Linked DNA regions of Homo sapiens: region 2 is linked to region 1. The links are contacts of gene promoters, found by promoter capture Hi-C in blood cells and fetal thymus (Javierre and others, 2016). All regions are on one chromosome and are shown on one strand. Each heading gives the region's core, a stretch centred on a gene start or on the middle of the fragment in contact. The rest is flanking DNA. Distances are from core to core; before and after follow the strand shown. Region 1 holds the start of DKK4 (dickkopf Wnt signaling pathway inhibitor 4). Region 2 has its middle 5.3 kb from the start of AP3M2.

Region 1 (3,632 bases), core at 1,090-3,589:
CATCTTCCATCGTAGTACAAACATCTGAGGGACAACCAGGTGTAACTAGAATTATTAACTTCAAGGGGGAGAACCACAGACACACTAATTATCCTACTGTTGCATAGTTTGGCAGCACCTCTGCCTTCAGTTTATATATAACTTTCTAGATTTCTGGAACATGTGCTAAATATTTACATGCTCGCATGTGGCAGAGAAAGTAGCTAAGTGGAAATTGCATTCCATTAAAGGTAGTTAATGGTATCCAAGTGGAAATGGAAGTATTTGAATGATTACAACTTGAGTCTTTCCTTTAAAATCATTATCTCCAAGTCATTGGCAAGAGCTGTTGCCAGGAAATAAATTATTTTGTTTCATTAAGAAAAGGCAAGCCGGGTCCGGTGGCTTACGCTTGTAATCCCAGCACTTTGGGAGGCCGAGGTAGGTGGATCACCTGAGGTCAGAAGTTCGAGACTAGCCTGACCAACATGGTGAAACCCTATCTCTACTAAAAATAACAAAAATTAGCCGGGCATGGTGGTACATGCCTGTAGTCCTAGTTACTCCAGAGGCTGAGGCAGGAGAACCACCTGAACCCGGAGGCCGAGGCTGCAGTGAGCTGTGGACAACAAGGGCGAAACTCCGCCTCAGAAAAAAAAAAAAAAGGAAAAGAAAAGGCAGCTGCATACATTTACTTCAAGCATGAATCTAGGAAGCACCATTAGAGAGTGCCTACCCTGGAATATTCTAGTCTATGGGGCTTAGACACTACCTTCGGTTTAAAAACCACTGTTGGCGTTATGTCGCTCACCGTTCACACAGAGTGTCCCAGGGCAGCACATGGCATCTCGCTGGCACCTCCTCCGCAACCCACGACATGTAGCACAGAACGGCTTCTCATCGCGGGGCTGGAGGCAGAACTTTCTGGTATTGCAGTCCGTGTCAGACAGGCACTGTGAGCCCTGTGGAGGGAATCTGTTATCACAAGGCTAGGAAACCCCCAACACGATGGAAGATGACTTATTATTGAAGGCAGGAGGCGGAGGGAGCCAAAGGACAGTGGCGCTGTGACAAACCCTGGGCAGCATCTTACTCTCCAGTGGAAATGGTTTTCTCCCACAAAGGGAAGCTCATGTCACCCGGGGAGACCTAGGCGCTGCAAAGGCTATTTGAGTTTGAAAAATTGACTTAACTCAGAATTTAGTTTTCCTGTGCTCTTTGTGAAAATGGGAAAAAATGTTTTCCTATGTGTGTCTTAACAGGTGAGTATGAGATTTTCAATATATCTTAACTCTAGAAGCTGGCTACAGTTTCATTAAACATACTATTGATGTTTGTGGCATTCCTATTTGATTTTTTACTCTAGTGAATCACATTTAGCTTAGAGACCCTTCCCTAAGTGAACTGTCCTTTGATTTTCAATGATGCCTCATTGACATAGAGAAAGAGATACCGAAGATCAATTGTTCTCATACACAGTTGATGCTTCTACATAGACATACAACGTAGGTGTAGCATATATGATATATGTAATAATCTATACGATATATAATAACATATACACATACATAAAGCGATTCCTAAAACAACTCTCTCTGTGAAGTTAGATGGTGACAAGGCAATGCATCATGGCCCTCTGTTTAAATTCTCATTCCCATGTTTGCTTGCTGGCTGTGTGAGCTTGGGTAAGCTCTTCAACATCTCTGAGTCTTATTTCCTCATCTGGAATTAGGGAATGTTTCACCTATCTCAAATTGTGAGGAAGAGTACATGACGTATTACATGTAAAAGAGCTGGCACATAGTAGAGCTTCCAAAGTGTTCGTTTATTTCGTGATTTATAGACAAACGTATGGCCGAATGATGTGAAAAGCCACTGTGTTTATTTCATACATTCACACTAAGGCCACTGATCCTACCAGGATGCCCTCCCAAATCCGAAACCAATTCAATTTACCTGCTAGGTAAGACATTTCATACATGAATCAGAATGACTTACTAAAGCCTAAACAAAACACCCCAGCTGTCAGCAGTCCCGTACCTCGCCCCCCTCCCTAGCAGCCTTACCTTCCGGGCCCCATGCAGGTCAGCAGAGCTCCTGATGTTGTTGAAGTCCAGGACCAGAGCTCCCAGGGGAGAGCAGAGCCAGCTCAGCCCCAGCAGGACGGCCGCCACCATCCTTCAATCCCGGGGCTCCTGGAGGGTCCCAGCACTGTGCGTCACCAAAGCGAGGCTGCTCTCCACCCAGAGCAGAGCTTCCACTAAGCTGGCAGCTCAGCACGTCGTCTGTTTGTCACTGCTTTTTCTGAAAGAAGTAAACCTTAGTCTGAGTAAGGTGCGTGAAATCGGCTGAGCAAAGTCTGACCAGCAGGTTCCTCCTGAAACTATTTATAACCAGATGTGCCTCCTCCCCGCTCCGTTCCTTCCTCCTGCCCCACACAGGCTTCAACAAATCCCTTCAAATCTGTTTGATCAATAGTTCAAAACAAGGACTCAATAGAAGGAGAGAAGAGGCAGGGCCATGCGGCTTCTCCTCCAGGGGTTCAATCCCTCTTAATTATTGCATATCAAAGTTAGTTCAAAGGGCCACGGCAGAGCAGGATGTCTGTATCAAAGGCAAACTCTGATAATCACCTGCATTTCCTACCTTCAGTAATCCTTTGGGGGTAGGGAGGGAGTCTGCCCTAAGATCTGTTTTCACAGCTAATTGTGCTCAAAGAAAGGATGAATCATACTGGCCAATATGCTATAGAGGATGCCAAAAACTAATGAGGTACAAAATACACTGAGAAGCTGTAAACTGGGCTTCAGATAGTGAGGACAGATAGAAAAAGAGAAAACGCCCCCTGATTAGCTCTGGCATCCAGATGTCAAAATCCCAACCGCTTAAAAGTTGTGAACGTAACAGCACCTGTTCTGACTAAATGCCATTTGGGAAATTACTTTCCTTTAAATGAAAATTGAACTGTTTGAAGTTAGGGTTATTAGGAAAATAATGTAATTTATGAAAATCCCATTTTTCAATGGTGGGAACAATGATAGCGCATTTTACACAATTCAGTACGAAGCTTTGGGTCCATTTTATCAGCAACATATTTAATTTGTGTTGCATTATGTAAAACTCACTTAAGCAGAACAAGGATCCAAGTCTCTGGCTGATTTCAGATGAAATTTCATGTATTTCCAATTTTCCTAATACGAATTTTTTAAAACTTCTGCTTCATCCCTTTCCTGTCTGATTTTTTTCCATTTGGACTATTAGTCAGGTAATTTAGACATGTGCTTATCACTGTCTTAAATACTTTAAGGGTAGAACAATCTAGATCTGGATCAAAAAATCATTTTTTCTCTTCATTGTTTCATTGCTCTTAGCATAGAGTCATCTAAAATGCATTTTTTCTATGCCATAAATGATAATCTTATTATTTACTACATTTTCCTGCAGAACAACCTAACATCAATTCATTGACATGAATCTCAGCATTCTGTGCATGGGAACATTCTCAATTTTGAGTAATGCAGTGCCATTCCGAGGGTGATGCAGGTGATTCGAGCCTTCCTACTACTTGGCCCTTGTCCTTGGGTTGGTATTGCTTGTCTACCTCTCGTATGGAAGTTACTTGTTTTAATCCCTTAAACTGACATCAAACAACA
Region 2 (3,344 bases), core at 132-2,631, 230 kb before region 1:
TGATGTACATTGAAGATAGAATCCACAGGGTATGCTTCTGATTACATGAGGGGATGAGGGTAATGGAGGACTTGAGGATGACTCATGGGTTTGAGTAGCTGGATGGATGGTGGTATTGTTTACTAAGCTGGGGAAAACAGTTGAGGTTGGAGATACATCGAGAGCTGTCATCATTAAAAGGGTATTACACTCATGAAGCCATCTAGGGAGAGTGCAGAGAAAGAACCGCGGAGCGTCTACTAACAAGCCACAGAATAATGCCATGCCCCTGAGGTGAGGGTGTGGCCTCATGATTGGATATTCTTGTGGCTAATCATCTGGGGAAGGGACCATTTGGTGCAATAATTATGTCCCTCAGGAGACTGGAACCAGGAGGCCAGCCTGAGGCCACCAGGAGAGGGAGGCTGCTGTCTCCTTGTCAGACAAGGTTTGGATTTCAGGAACTCCAGATGGCTTGCCGGGGCTCCTAGGTGAGAGGAGGTACACAGCATCCCTGTCCCCTGGAAGCAGGTGTGCATCCCATAGAGACATCTAAGATGCCCGGATTGGATCACATTTGTGAGCTACATTTTTAGTTGCATGTTACTCTTTCTGCTCACTTCCTTTCTGTTATCTTCAAGTCTTTTTTTTTTTTTTTTTTGAGACTGAGTCTCGTTCTATCACCCAGGCTGGAGTGCAATGGCACGATCTTGGCTCACTGCAAACTCTGCCTTCCAGGTTCAAGCCATTCTCATGCCTCGGCCTCCCGAGTAGCTGGGATTACAGGTGGCCGCCACCATGCCCAGCTAATTTTTGTATTTTTAGTAGAAATGGGTTGGCCAGGCTGGTCTCGAACTCCTGACCTCAAGTGATCCGCCCACCTCTGTCTCCCAAAATGTTGGGATTACAGGCGTGAGCCACTGTGCTCGGCCTATCTTCAAGTCTTTAGACAAGCTTTGGATAAATGTCCATCCTGGTCTCTGCTCTGCTATAGGAAATTAAACAAACAACAAAAAATAGTGTGTCTTAAATGCCATTGAAGAGTTAAAGGGATACTGACCCTCCCAAAACCAGTATGGTGGTGGGAGCTGCAGCCAGCAGTGAGAGGTCCCTAAGGGGAAAGCGGATCTCTTTTTCTAGAGTAGGGCGTCAGGTTCAGTCTCTCCTCTCCACATGGACAGGCTCCTTTCATGGCCAGGCTTAAAGGAGCTGGTTTTTTTTTTTTTTTTTTTTTGAGATGGAGTCTCCCTCTGTGGCCCAGGCTGGAGTGCAGTGGCGTGATCTTGGCTCACTGCAACTTCTGCCTCCTGGGTTCAAGTGATTCTCCTGCCTCAGCCTCCCCGAGTAGCTGGGACTATAGGTGCATGCCACCACACTGGGCTAATTTTTTTTTTTTCTATTTTTAGTAGAGACAAGGTTTCACCATGTTGGCCAGGCTGGTCTCGAACTCTTGACTTCAGGTGATCCACCCGCCTTGGCCTCCCAAAGTGCTGGGATTACAGGTGTGAGCCACGGCGCCCGGCCTGGTTTTGATAAGGGGAGCAGTCTACACTTTAAATCCCCCCTCCACTTGACTGTATGTTCCTTGAAGTAACATAGAGTACCGCATCTTTGTACCCGCAGTGTCCAGGAGGTTGTAAGCACTCCATCACTGTTAGTTTAATAGGTGATTGTTCACTAGACATTGTGAGACACACTGTGGTTTCCCAAAGAGCTTAGAATCCAGATTTGGTCAGCAGATGCACATGTTGATGCATGGCAGAGTGTGCCCGCTCTGTAGGTTACATGAAAGAGCTGGGAAATGCTCTTTGATCACAGAGGAGGGAAACATTACTCCCAGTGTGGGGGCAAGAAGCTTCAAACAGACTTTGTGGAGGAGGAAACATATGGCTGGGCCTTGCGGGCTGGAGCGAATTTCCAAAATAGGATGAGTAAAAGACAAACATGTGCCAGGTAGAGGGCTCCGTGAGAAGGGAGGCATGAGGAGAAGGCATTCCATTGCTTCAGTGCATGACCGGTAGTGAGGTGTGTTGCAAGGAGAGCATACGTGTGAACAGGGAGGAAGTGGCAAAGACGCAGAAATGATGTTGCAGCTCTGAAAAAAATGTCTTTCTGGGTGGGCAAGGCCTCTCTTGTCTCAGACCAAAAATGAAATATAAATAAATAAATAAATAAATGGTTCCCAGTGAATCCTGATAGCTAGGATTAACTTTTTATGGTAGAAAAATTTCTCAGCAGTGAGAGCTGTTAAACATTAGAATGGTTTGTGAGTGGCAGCTTTAGGAAATCTTTCCCTAGAGATTTTTATGCACAAAATAGACTGACTTATCATTTGTCAATGATTTCCTGTGGCCTCTCTTAAAGTCATGGGAAAGTATTACATGAGCTCTCAGATTCTATGTTACTTGATTCAATTCAACAAACACTTGAGTGTCAACTTGGTTCATGCCCCCAGGCATTGCTATATACTGGATTCATGCGCCCTCCCCGCAAGGGGCCTCTCTTCCAGTGATCCCCATCTCAACACATGATGCTTCCATCCATGTCATTGCCCGAATCAGAAACCTACTCTGCCTCACCACTGACATTCCATTAATCCCTAATCCCTATCTTCTCTGGAAGGTGTCCACTTCTCTCTAATCCCTGCCTCATGGCTCCAGGCACTAGCTCTCTCCTAGGGATTACTGCAATTGTCTAAATAACCTCCCAGCCTCCAGGCTCAGCCTGTTACAGTCCATCCTGCACACATAGTCTTTCTGAAATGGAAATCTGAAAGTGTGCCACTCTCCTGCTTCACATTTCTTCAATGGGTTCCTGGGCTTAGAGGTAGGAAGTGTGGAATCTGAGCCATTCTGCTCAGATCTTCCAACGTCCTTGAATCACAGCTTTGCTGTTCGACCTTGGGCAGTTATTTAAGCTGTCTTTGCAGCTTCCTCATCTACGAAAAGGGGATCACAACGGTAATTCATTTTAGAGTAGTTGGGGGGATTAAATGATTTCAGATCCTCCTCTCTTATGTGAACTCTTAAATTTGGAGTGTCCCTGGAATCTGGTTCTCTTATCTCTCCACACTCCTTCCCTCGGTCATCTCAACAGGTCCTACTACTTTAAATATCCATATACTGAAAACACCCAAATTTATATCTCAAGCTCAGCCCACTCTCCTGAACCCTGGACTTATATGTCCAGCTGCCTTCTCAACATCTCCACTTGGATAGTTAATGGAGCTCACAGATATATTGATATACTTTGGATGTTTGTCCCCTCCAAATCTCATGTTGAAATGTGATCCCCAGTTTTGGAGGTGGGTCTAGCAGGTGTCATGGGGTTGGATCCCTCGTGAATGGCTTGGTGCCCTCCCCATG

The links. The method cuts DNA at HindIII sites, captures the fragments that hold promoters and counts their contacts. A CHiCAGO score of 5 or more calls a contact.
Region 2: a contact is called between a fragment that was not itself captured here and the fragment with the promoter of DKK4 in region 1, in 2 of 17 cell types (megakaryocytes and endothelial precursors). The highest score is 5.7, in megakaryocytes.

Annotation. Positions count from the first base shown.
Region 1 is chr8:42,374,890-42,378,521 of GRCh38, forward strand. DKK4 (dickkopf Wnt signaling pathway inhibitor 4) reads right to left here and starts at 2,340. Exons shown (of 4, transcript NM_014420.3): 1 at 2,046-2,340; 2 at 791-941; 3 at 1-24. The coding sequence starts at 2,156. The HindIII fragment of the contact is 5,398 bases long and covers 1-3,044 here.
Region 2 is chr8:42,146,098-42,149,441 of GRCh38, forward strand. No RefSeq gene overlaps it. Among named protein-coding and RNA genes, the nearest start is that of AP3M2, 5.3 kb to the right of the region's middle. The HindIII fragment of the contact is 901 bases long and covers 932-1,832 here.